Regions from separate parts of the Homo sapiens genome. Here region 2 is linked to region 1. The links are contacts of gene promoters, found by promoter capture Hi-C in blood cells and fetal thymus (Javierre and others, 2016). All regions are on one chromosome and are shown on one strand. Each heading gives the region's core, a stretch centred on a gene start or on the middle of the fragment in contact. The rest is flanking DNA. Distances are from core to core; before and after follow the strand shown. Region 1 holds the start of HERC1 (HECT and RLD domain containing E3 ubiquitin protein ligase family member 1). Region 2 holds the start of CIAO2A (cytosolic iron-sulfur assembly component 2A).

Region 1 (6,415 bases), core at 2,344-4,843:
GGCTAATTTTTGTATTTTTTAAATAGAGACGGGGTTTTGCCATGTTGGCCAGACTGGTCTTGAACTCCTGACCTCAGGTAATCTGCCCACCTCAGCCTCTCAAATTGCTGGGATTACAGGCGTGAGCCACCGTGCCTGGCCCATTATATATGTTTTCTAAACCTCCTCCAAAAAGGCTTTCAGCTCTTTTTGCACTTCTTCTGGTTTGCTTGCTCCCTCCCACTATACCTTTATCACTTGCACTCTCCTCATGTGATATTATATCGATCTATTTTCTTCCCTCTCTCCTCCCATTAGACCATAAGCTCCTTGAGGGCAGGTGTTTAAGCTTGTTCAATAGTATATTTAGTGCCTTGCACAGTGCCTGACTTATGATAGGCATTCCACAAAGACCTGTTAAATGAATGAATGAATAATCATACCTCACATTTAAATAGTGCTACAAATATGGTTACAAAGTACTTTCTTATGTTATTTGACTCCCATGATACTCTCCGGCAGGCAGTGGGTTTTATTATTACCCCTATTTACAGATGTGAGACTAGGCTCAGAAAGACTGTGTAATGGCAGGGCAACTAGGCTGCAATTTCTGGAGCTACCAGAACTCATGTCCATGGATTCCTGCTCTGGAGCTCTTTTCTGTTTTCAGAGTGATATATTTCCTGAGCCAAGTGCCAAGGGCAACACAAACTTACTCCCAGTGTCTGTTTACCCCTGCTGCTCTGCCTCCACACTTTACTGCTCTGCTGGATTTCTTCACTTCAAACTTAGCCCTGATTTTTATCTAGGAGTTGCACATTTCCTAAATGCAGATGAAAGATGAAAAATATATATTCTACTGTTGATTCTCCAGTTCCTTTGCCTGGGACCTCCCAGCTGTGGTGTGGTGCTGTGAAGTATGAGGCATGAAGTGGGGGTGACATACGTGAGGGGAGGAAGATGTGGCTGACTGGTATGGCCAGGGTATGCTGCTCAGAGGGCTATCAGACCAAGGGCTTGTGATGCTTAGGACTTGGCTGTGGCTCTGAGATCCCTCCATCCACTCTTCCCATCTCCAACATTTTTCTTTAGGGAAATCTGAATAAAATGAACTGGTAGAGTTGGGAGGTTAATGCTGACAACAAGGTTCCAGGATATGCTGATTTGAGTATGAAACAGTGTTTTAAGCATGGTGCGGTGGCTCACGCCTGTAATCCCAGCACTTTGGGAGGCCGAGGCAGGCAGATCATTTGAGGTCAGGAGTTCGAGAGCAGCCTGGGCAACATGGTGAAACCCTGTCTCTACTAAAATATAAAAAAATTAGCCGGGCATGGTGCAGCACACCTGTAATCCCAGCTACTAGGAAGACTGAGGCAGGAGGATCGCTTGAACCCGGGAGACAGAGGTTGAAGTGAGCCAAGATCACGCCACTGCACTCTAGCCTAAGCAGCAGAGTGAGACTCCACCTCAAAAAGAAAAAAGAAAGAAAGAAAAAAACAGTGTTTTGGGAAAGAGTGGTGTGGTCAAGGTGAGGGTGGCTAGTAGTCAGGGCTCACTTGCTGACACTAACAGTATTTGCTAATTGTATGCAACTGAACACAGTTGTATTCAATTCTCTTTTACACACAGCTCTGAGGGTGGAAGCTAAGGAGATGGTAAAAGAGGGAGTCTCTTGATTGGTCTTTAAAGTAAGCAGTCCTTTTCTTGAAATAGAATGGGCAAAACCAGGCTGGGCACGGTGGCTCACCCCTGTAATCCCAGCACTTTGGGAGGCCAAGGCGGTCGGATCACAAGGTCAGGAGTTCGAGACCAGCCTGGCCAATATGGTGGAACCCCATCTCTACTAAAAATACAAAAATTAGCCAGGCATGGTGGCACACACCTGTAATCCCACCTACTTGGGAGGCTGAGGCAGGAGAATCGCTTAAACCTGGGAGGCGGAGGTTGCAGTGAGCCAAGATGGTGCCATTGCACTCTAGCCTGGGCAACAAGAGCAAAACTCCATCTCAAAAAAAAGAAAAAGAAAAAGTGGGCAAAACCAGTACAATTTTACAAATTCAAGAAAGACAGAATATCATATTTGTGAGTGACGTAGATGACATCAACAAGTTAAAAGGAGGAGCTTTTGCTTGTTGTTTTTGAGTATGCTTCACACACAATACCCAGATCATAAAGCACTAGCAACAATGACATCACTCCTCATGTAGCTACTCCCTTACATCATTTACCAGAAATACACATTTTATACATAGAAACTTAAAAGCTACACACCTAAGACCCATCATTTAATGAGTACTTAATATGTGCCGTATGTGAGCTTTACATATATTTTACTCCTCAGAGGAACCTTGTGATAACAAGAACTGGCATTATAAATTGACACATAAGGAACTGAGGTTCAGAGAGGTCAAGCAACTTGCCCAAGGTCACACACCTGGGGTAAGTGGGATTCCAGAATTCCCACCAGTGTCTGACAGTGAAGCACATGGCTCCTAACTCTTGGACTAAACTGCCTCATGTGACACACAAACATGTATCTAATTTAACCATGGGAAAGCACTCCCTCGTCTGTCTATACCGTAATTTCTTACATTAGTGACACATTCATGGCTTGTATGTTTGTGTGCTTCTCCTACGCCTCCAATTGGATTGCAAACTTCTGGAACGCAGAGGCCAACTCTATTTTTTGTCCCCAAGTCATCGGTCAGTTTAATTGATGCTCGTTAGAATATCTGGAAGGAAAGACACCATGAAGGTGGCTGGAAAGGAGTAAAACCAGGTACAGAAGGAGGAAGATGGAGATGGGGTATTCACTCAACAATTTAATGTCCACTTGGACCTATGTTAGGCGCTGGAGATATGGTGAGGACTGAGCCAGTCTGTGTCCTTCCCCTCATGGGGTTTCACGTGGAGGTCGAGGTCATGATCAAGGATGTAAGTCACCCAAAGGACACTACTGTGTTCCCAAGCAGAAAAGAAAACCGAGGAGCCAGGCCCTGGCATCTGCAGGGTTCTGGCAGTCCCATAAGGCGCAAAGACATGAACAAGGTGGAAGAGTAGGTCAAGTGAAACGCTTTTATGTGATTGAACTTAGCCGGCCGGAGGGCCGGGGCCGCTGCGATGAGAGATAAAGAGCGTGGGGCGCCGGGTGCGAGGCGGAGATAAAGGGGTGAGGCCCTGGCCCTGCCGCCGGCCGTAACACGTGTCCCTTCGCCTGGCGGCGGGGTCTTCCCTGCCCACCACGAGGAAAAGGGGGCGCACTGCATGGCCCCCCACTCCTCACCACCCTTTGTGAAACGCCCCCAATTGTGCTTCATCTGTGGAGTCAGGTCCCCGCAGGCGGTCGGGGCTGCCCGGATTCCGCGACGGCTGAAGGGTGAGGGCCGCGCGGTAGCAAAGTGTCCCCAGCACCTAGCTTGGCTCCCCTCGCTCCCAAATCCCTTTCCCCTTTTCGCTCAACCCCCAACTCCACCTCAGCCGCCTTCCTCTCGGTTCCCCTTTCACCTCCCGCGCTGGGCCTGTTGGGCGGGGCGAGGGCTCCCGGCTGCGCGAGAGTTCCGCCCAAATCTCGTGAGACTCGCCTGACGCCGCCGCTGCTGCCGCCGCCTCTTACGTCTTTCCCTTTGACAAGTCGCTGCTGCTGCAGCAAAAATAAAGGACGCGACCGCCGCAGCCTCTGCGGAGCCGGGCTCGGGTCGCCGGAGCCGCGCCCCACCCCGCCAGCTCCAGAGCCACGTACGGTAACGCATCATCTACCGTCCTCCTGGTCCTGTGTGTGTGTGTGTGTGTGTGTGTGTGTGTGTGTGTGCGCGCGCGCGTGTGTGCTTTGCCGGCCGCGCAGGGCCGGCCGGGGCCGTTTCGGGACTGCAGCCGAGCGGGGCTGCTGGGGTCCCGGGTGGGCGGCAGGCGAGCTGGGGGAGCCCTCCTGGCGCGCCGCGGATCCCCCGGGTCCCCGGCTCTAGAGGCCTCCTGCCGCCCGGGCGCCTCGGAGCAGCGTAGAAGCCGAGGCGCCCGCGGAGAGGGCCGAGAGACCCGCCCCTCCAGCGGCTTACAACGTCTGTGCCCCGGCCCCGCTGTGGTCGCGTCTCTTTCTGCTTCATTCCTTTATCTGCTGACCAGCTCCTCTGCCCCGGCTGGGGCTCGGTCCGCGGGCGGCGGCCGACTCCCTCTCAGGGTCCGGGGAGTGCCGCGACCCCGGTGTCCCCAGGCGCCGGCCGCCTTTAGCGGGGTGGAGGCTGGGACGACGTGTCTTCCTCCTCTCCTCTGCCTTTGGGTGAGGGCAGCTCATCATCTGCTAAACCTTTCTCCAAATCTCCCGCCCCAATAAAACAACAAATTATAAAGCCTTTGCAACCGGGAGGCGAGGCGGGGCGCATTGTTTAGTCTTAAGCGTGAGATGAGGATGATGATGGTGATGACAGGAGCTACCCCGGGGAACATGGTGAAATCTGTTCTGTGATGGGTGGCAGGTTACTGGGAGACACGAGGAGGACAGGAGCTTGTACCACCTCTCCCAGGAGGTTATGTAAAAGACATGTTATCTTAGAGAGCTGTGAAACACAGGGACAGATTTGTCTTAGTTTAAGAAATGTCTATAATACTTAGAATATAGAGATAATTAAATGATGGGAATAACAAATCTGAACAAACTAACCCATCTTTGTAATTCCATCTCCAGAGGTGGCATTTCATGGTTAACATTTTATTGTATTTCCTAACAGACACATTTTTTTTTATCCTTGCTTGGGACTTCCTCATTCTATATTTGTTCCAAAAATGATTTATTTTATTTGAATCAGTTCTCTGGCCTGCTTGATTAAAACTGGCTGCTAGTTCATTATCACTGGCTGAACTCTGCCATCACTATCTTTTTCACTGGGCCCTTTTCCAAAATGATTGTTAGCTAAGTGGTTTGAAAAATCAAACGTTAAAACATTGTCTGTTTGGGTCTAGTACCTATGTATATATTATATTTTTACAATTCTGTTAGTGGTGGTTGCTCAAAATGGGGCAGTATTTGTAGAAGGGAAAGAAACTATGATTATTCATAGTGGGAAGAAACCTATTTACCTCAGGTTTTATGAAATTGATTTCTACTGGATATTTTTAGACCAAAATTGTTCTGTGACATTGTTTCATAGTGCCTGTTGTGATTAGTGTGGGATGAGTATGTCTCTTTGATATATGTGTTTCCATAGCCTGCGTTTATACAAGCAAAATTGAATGTCCTAGGTGCCTGTCTTATGCATAAATGTACGTATATATGTATAGAGACACACACACACACACACGTATTCTGCACCTATACACATTTATATATCTTGGAAGTGAGTTAAGATGTATTGCTATATTATTTGAGAAAAGATAGCATTAGGAAGGGCAAAGAACAGTCATAATATTTCCCCCAAATCACATGACAAGGTTGTATGGCAGAATGAGATATCTAGGGAGGTTGGAAATCTGGAGCCTTTTAAAAATAGGATAGATTGTCATCTGGGGTTGTTGTTATTGGAATGGATTAAATGGCCTATTAAGGCCTCTTGTAATTCTAAACTTTTATGAATTTTGCGTTCCCTAAGGTTCTTATCATTTTGCTTCTTAAATTTCCAGTCATGCTGTTTGCATGTGACACATCCATTCATTTGCTGGTCATGTATTCCATTTCCAATGCAGGCACCCTGATGTTGCATGGAAGAGAAAGCAAATGTAAATGCGTCACTTAATCTGCTTATTAATATAAACATCTCTTGAAAATCTCAATTTAAAGAAATTTTGGAGAATGTGTTGGTGATTGGACTGGATTGGGTTAGTAGAGGGTGCAAATAATAAATAGTAATAACAATTCCAACGTTCCAAGCATGTTTTCCCCCAAAAAAGTCATACTGAATACTCCCTAATATTTGAAATAGAAAAAAAAGGGGGCTGGGTATATTGAAGGAGCTGACCTTTTAAAATTTTTAAAATTCAGATTTTCAGATCTTAAAATGATGATAATGATGACATCGTGGCTTGGAGAGTGAGAAGGTTGTGTTAGGATAAAAAGAAACTTGTGAAACAAAACTTGAATGTTATAGTTGGATAACTATATAATAGCAAGTAACAAACTTACTATAATCTGTTGAAGCTATTTTTAAAAATTGTAAATAGAACTTTTGGCCAGATTACAGTAGCTCACGCCTGTAATCTCAGCCCTTGGGGAGGCCGAGGTGGGAGGATGGCTTGAGCCCAGGAGTTTAAGATCAGTCTGGGCAACATGGTGAAACCTTGTCTCTATGGTAAATACAAAAATTTGCTGGACGTGGTGGTGCATACCTGCAATTCCTGCTATTAGGGAGGCTGAGATGGGAGGATCAATTGAGCCTGGGAGATTGAGGCTGCAGTGAGCTGTGATTGCACCACTCTACTCCAGCCTGGGAGACACAGTGAGACTCTATCT
Region 2 (6,415 bases), core at 281-2,780, 260 kb before region 1:
GTTTTTGTCCCGCCGAAATCGAGCAAAGCACGCTGGAACTTGTAGTCCTTGAGGCCCCTTCCCTAGGTCCTTCGAGCTACTCCGTCTGGCCCCGCCTTTTCTCTGCTCTCCTGAACCTTTAGGCTTGTCTCGGCCCATTTGAAGACCAGGAAGTTGATCAATCCCGAGGCTGCTGAGAGACGGTGGCGCGATTGGGACAGTCGCCAGGGATGGCTGAGCGTGAAGATGCAGCGGGTGTCCGGGCTGCTCTCCTGGACGCTGAGCAGAGTCCTGTGGCTCTCCGGCCTCTCTGAGCCGGGAGCTGCCCGGCAGCCCCGGATCATGGAAGAGAAAGCGCTAGAAGTTTATGGTAATTAATTTTACCCAGCACAGCATTTGGCGTTATAGGTGCAGGCCGGAGCTGAGGGGTGCGGGGATGATGGCCTCACCTGAGGGCTGGGAGGGGAGACCTTTTTTTTTGTTTGTTTGTTTGTTTGTTTTTGGCCAGATCTTGTCCGGGGCGTAGCAGGCGCTTTCTTCGGGGTCCTAAGTCACGTGGGGGGTGTGGGTCTTTCTGGGAACTGGGCTCTTCGTAAACCTGGGGCAAGCCGAACCCAGAGGTCTTAAAAGCTTCATTCTCCACGTGTGGCCTACGTCTTAGTAACCATTCCAAGACTTGTGGGGAGACCACAAGTCTAGGGTGCCTGGTTAGGAAGCAAAGCTGGCCTGATTGCACTACTAGAGCCTCGTTCTCTAGCTCCTGGACACGCACTCTTGCTACCGCTGAGGGCGCTTGTGGGTGACAGTCGAGTTGGGGACTGGCCCAAGGTCACAGCCACTCTATCCGGCAAAGTCAGTAAGCAGAGGTCCCCGAAAGAAGAGAACGAGATTGGCTTCTTGTAGCAAGGCCTTGTGTACACACACATAACGCACACACACACATACACACTCTTCCATGTTGCATATTAAATATTTTCTGTTTAACCCTTGGGGCCATCTTTATTGTACAAATGAGGAAACAAAGGTTAAAGAACTACCTGGAGGTCACACTGCCAGTAAGGAACAGAGCCAAAAAGCAAAGGCTGTGCCTACTGGTTCTAACCGTAATGCACTTTCCACCACTTCACAATTGCCTTACAACTTTTTGTTTGTTTGTTTTTTTAATTATGTTGTATTGTTTTTGAAAACCGAAAAGACTGGATATAATATTGAGAGATCTAACCATAGAATACAAATATAATTCAAGTAAGGATTATAGGCCAGTAGAAGGAAGCCAGGGTTAGGAAATACTCTGGGAGCTAATTTGGTTGACCTCTCTTACTAGAGGCAGGACTTACCTAATCAGCCTCCAGGCAGATGATAATTGTGAGTAAAATGATCTCCACAAAGCAGACCACATCCCTGTCCTGCCAGATCTCTGTCCACATAATCTAGGGATGGTAGGGCACTGGAGATACAACTTTGGAAGAGAGTGACTCTAGTCTTCAAACTGATATTGAAGGAAACCCATATATGCAAAAATAGAGTATGTAATAGAAGGCTGTAGACTGAATAAGAGATACAGAAATTCAGAGAAAGGGAGATACTAGTCTCTGACTGAGGGGATCTAGAAAGACTTTGAAATAAAGAGAAGGAGCCACTTGAGTTGGGCCTCAAAGAATAATTAGGATCTAGATATGTAGAGGGTCAGAGGGCATACTAAGAGGAAACTTAAAAGCATGGAGGTAAGAAGATAGGAAATGACAGATAGATGGGGCTATAGGATAGGGTTTGTGGTTAAATGTGAAGATGTGGTTGAACATTGTTCTAGGTAGTGGGATGCAGTTGGATACTGAAGGTTTTAAATATAAATGAAGAATTTTAATAGTGCAGTGCTGTGGAAGAATGTTAGTGTGGGGAGTAATATGAGGAGAACTTTCTTTTAAATTTTTTTTTTTTTTTTTTTTTTTTTGAGACAGGGTCTCACTCTGGTAATCAGGCTGGAGTGCAGTGGTGCAATCACTGCTCACTGCAGCCTCCATCCACCTCCAGGGCTCAAGCCATCCTCCCACCTCAGCCTCCTGACTGACTGGGACCATAGGCATGCACCACCATGCCCAGCTAATTTTTGTATTTTTTTGTAGAGATGAGGTTTTGCTATGTTACCCAGGCTGGTCTTGGACTCCTGAGCTCAAGTGATTTGCCTGTCTCGGCCTCCCAAAGGCTGGGATTACAGGCATGAGCCACCACACCCGGCCCTTCTTTCTTTTTAAAGAAGTAAAGCCAAACCTCTCAAATCTAGAAACTAGAAAACTAGAGAAATTTAATAAGGATGATATTTAATTTCAGGGTTTAGTGGCATATAAAGAATATAATACAATTAAATGAGCCTTATGGGGAGAAAGCCTAGTATGAGAGGCAGAAAATTCCTTTTCAGAAAACTCTGTTTCCCTAAGTCCCATGATAACACAGCTCTGTGAAAGAGAAGCTTTGTCGACTTTCTTGCCTATGTTTTCCAATTCTGCTTCTTTCTTTCTTTTTTTTTTTTTTTTGAGACAGAGTCTCTTCTGTCACCCAGGCTAGAGTGCAGTGACACAATTTTGGCCCACTGCAGCCTCAGCCTCCTGGGTTCAAGTGATTCTCCTACCTCAGCCTCCTGAGTAGCTGTGATTACAGGCACATGCCACCACACCCGGCTCATTTTTGTATTTTTAGTAGAGACGGGTTTTTGCCATGTTGGCCAGGCTGGTCTTGAACTCCTGAACTCAGGTGGGTGATCCACTTGCCTCAGCCTCCCAAAGTGCTGGGATTACAGGCATGAGCCGTCATGTTTGGCAAAATTCTGTTTCTAATCAAGTGACAAGCCCAGGAGCAAATTAAAGAGAAAATAGAATTTGTTCTTGTTTTTCCCAGTTGCATTTCTGATTACATATAATTTTGTGTGATAAATAATAAAACAAAACTTCAGATTTGAGAACCTCAAGCACATTCTATGTAAAATTCTGCTTCTTTCCTTTCTACCTCACCATTTCTCTTTATTGTTCTCCTTTCCTTCATCTCTTTCTCCAGCCTCAGAGTAAGAAAGAAATCTTGTCTTCTCCAAGGCCAACTGAGACTTCTAAATATTTGATCCCACTCCCTTCTGCTTATTTTACCAGTCTCCGCTCCTCCCAACTTATATTTTCAATTTCTCTCCTCAAAGTTGCCCTTATCCTTGTCATTGTTCTAGCTTCCTTATAAAGTCATTGTCCTTTTCATGTCCCTCCCTTCCCAGCTAAGGCCCTAGGAAGACATTTTCAGTTCCTACTTGCTTCCCCTTTTGCAAGCTGGCTTCAGCGCACGCACTCTCTACTGAAACTGCTTTCTTACAGCTGGCTGGGGTGACAAATGAAAGACCTGTTTTAGCTCTCATGAGCCTGAATTTTTCTGCAGCATTTAATGTTATTAACCATCCCTCTCTTCCCTCCTCTAGTTCTTTTTGCTTTTGTTTCTCATTCTGATCCCTAAGTTAGGTGCTTCGCATGGATCTGTTGGGTCTCTTTTTTCTTTATACCACTGATTCTCATACTGGGTTGTACCTAAGAACAACCCGAGAAATTTTTAAAACTCAAAGGCCAGCAAACCAATTAAATCAGAGTCTCTGGAATTGGGGCCCAGGCATCAGGTTTTTTTGTTTGTTTGTTTTTGTTTTTGAGACGGAGTTTTTGCTCTGTTGCCCAGGTTGGAATGCAATGGCGGGATCTCGGCTCACTGCAACCTCTGCCTTCTGGTTTCAAGTGATTCTCCTGCCTCAGTCTCCTAAGTAGCTGGGATTACAGGCGCCCGGCACCACGCCTGGGTAATTTTTGTATTTTTAGTAGAGACGAGGTTTTACCATGTTCACCAGGCTGGTCTCGAACTCTTGACCTCAGGCGATCCACCCGCCTCAGCCTCCCAAAGTGCTAGGATTATAGGCCTGAACCACGCGCCCGGCCTTGTTGTTTGTTTTGAAACATTCTTGGTAATTCCAATGTTCAGCCAAGGTTCTACTTATTCTTTGTGAATCCTGTGGGTTTGACAACCACTCTAGCTTTGATGCTGTTTTAAACTCTATGCTACAGTTTACCACTTGCTAGAAAACTCCATTGGATAACCCCTTAAGCACCTCAAAATCATTCTGTGTGAAATTGAACTCATTTGCTCTATGCCCCACCCAAATTTCTTCCTCGTTCTGTTTCTTTTAGTTCTGCCAGTGTTGTCCTAGATACTATTTTAGGCCTGGTGTTTTTAGCTGGTATCATTGGTTCTGCTTTTTAGTCTGAGTCTAGCAGCTGATGATGAGTTACCAGCTGACAGCACAGTGTTGTCCATGTCACTTGTCTCAAACCTCTTGAGGACTTGCTATTGCCGGTAGCTGGCTGTAAAAGACACTTGATGGTCAGACCCAAATCTCATACTCTAAAACACCTTTCACTTATGCCTGCTTCCAGGCAAACTAGGGTTCTTCTTCTTTACTTTACTTTCCTTCACTTTTTTTTTTTTTTTGAGACAGGGTCTCGCTTTGTTGCCCAGCCTAGAGTGCGGTGACACGATCTCCGCTCTCAACCTCTGCCTCCTGGGCTCAAGCGATCCTCCTGAGTGGCTGGGACCACAGGCCTGCACCACTACACCCGGCTAATTTTTGTGTGTATTTTTTGTAGAGACGGGGGTCTCATTATGTTGCTGAGGCTGGTCTCGAACTTCTGAGCTCAAGTGATCCTCCCGCCTTTGCCTCTCAAAGTGGTTGGTTTACAGGTGTGAGCCACCATGCCCAGCTACTTTCCTTCACTTTAAATGTCAAATATTGAAATGTTACCTATTTTTCAAGGCTTGATTCAGATTCCGCTCCTATAAAGCCTGATAACCACATTCTTTCAAGCTGAAAGTTATTTCTTCCTCTTGAGCTTCCATGACACTGTTTCCATTCTTATTATATTTTCTCTGCAATGTCCGATTGGAGAAACTGGATATGGTCTTATAATAATCCAAGAAAACAGTTTTCTCAAGAGGAAACCAGTAGTGAAAATTTCTGTCAGAAACCTGGGAGTTGCTGTACTATTTGCTTAAACGTAAGAGAAGTCAGTGCTTAAATTAGGCCTGGCAAAATCATCTTTATTTAGAATAGTCATGTTTTAATAGAATATCTTATCTCTGATGATTCTTTAGATTTGATTAGAACTATCCGGGACCCAGAAAAGCCCAATACTTTAGAAGAACTGGAAGTGGTCTCGGAAAGTTGTGTGGAAGTTCAGGAGATAAATGAAGAAGAATATCTGGTTATTATCAGGTTCACGCCAACAGTACCTCATTGCTCTTTGGCGACTCTTATTGGTAAGTTTTTCTGTACATACATGTATATTTATATAAATTCTAAGTTATTCTTGCTGATATTGACCCATAATAACAATTTGCATCATTGTTGAAAAACCATACAGTGTATGTATTACACTTTATGGTTTACAGAGTATGTTCGTGTATTCATCTTCTGTAGTCCTCACAATTAGCTTGTTGAGTTAAAATATTATTATCTTCATTTTGCAGATGAGGAACCTGAAGCTCAGAGAGTTTAAGTGACTTGCACAGAATCAGGTAGCCAGGAAATGGTGAAACTAAGGCTCATACCCAGGTCTCCTGACTCCACTTCTCCTTTAGTTATGTCAGGCTGCCCCTCCCAGGTATATATGCCCACAATTAATGGAGAGTGCATGTGGGCCAGTGCTTTTCCTCAGTTCTGGAGGTTGGAGTGGGTGGTGTCAGACTAGCATTGCTTCCATCACCATCTCCTTTCAGTGACTCTTCTGGTTTCTACATAGTATGGGTAGAAGTCCTGGTAGGAGGTTGGATTCCCAGTATTTTGGATTTGTTAGCAGGTACAATAAATGTATTTGAACATATGCTTTGTTATAAAGGGATTTTATTTCAAACCAAATGTTCATGAGTAGGGGATTGATTAAATAATCATTGATGGTGAATATAAACAGTGGAATACTATGCAGCTATAAAAAAGAATGAAGAAGCTCTGCATGTACTGATATGGAGAGATCTCTATGACATACTGTTAAGAAATAAAAGCAAGTATCATTTTGCTATCATTTGTGTAAAAAAAGCAAAAACATACATTTGTATTTGATTGCATATGCCTGAATAATATTAATACATAAATGAATAGCTATAAGGGTGTTAGCGGGTAATAGTGGTGGTGGGAGCTGGGCAGATGGGGGAAAGGGTGGGAGGGAGACTTTATACCTTTTTATGTTTTTACATTTTCAAACCATGGGACTATCTCACCTATTAAAAAGCAACAAGTTTATAAAAAAGATTGAAAAGGTCGCTATTTCGTTATTATTTCCACTATTGTGATTTCTGTCTTTTCTCACTGGTTGACCTGGGTTCCCTCTGCTGGTGGTTTCCACCATATAGGCCACATCTTGAGGGACTG

Evidence for each region. Contacts are between HindIII fragments. The CHiCAGO score rates a contact against its expected background, and 5 or more counts as called.
Region 2: a contact is called between a fragment that was not itself captured here and the fragment with the promoter of HERC1 in region 1, in 14 of 17 cell types (naive B cells, M2 macrophages, erythroblasts and 11 more). The highest score is 12.4, in naive B cells.

Annotation. Positions count from the first base shown.
Region 1 is chr15:63,831,126-63,837,540 of GRCh38, reverse strand. HERC1 (HECT and RLD domain containing E3 ubiquitin protein ligase family member 1) reads left to right here and starts at 3,593. Exons shown (of 78, transcript NM_003922.4): 1 at 3,593-3,714. RefSeq lists enhancers at 3,405-3,534, 2,708-3,571, 3,572-4,437 and a silencer at 3,775-4,204. The HindIII fragment of the contact is 17,710 bases long and covers 331-6,415 here.
Region 2 is chr15:64,087,579-64,093,993 of GRCh38, reverse strand. CIAO2A (cytosolic iron-sulfur assembly component 2A) reads left to right here and starts at 156. Exons shown (of 5, transcript NM_032231.7): 1 at 156-349; 2 at 5,143-5,307. The coding sequence starts at 226. RefSeq lists enhancers at 1-473, 834-883, 519-1,081, 4,405-4,454, 4,505-4,564. The HindIII fragment of the contact is 1,837 bases long and covers 612-2,448 here.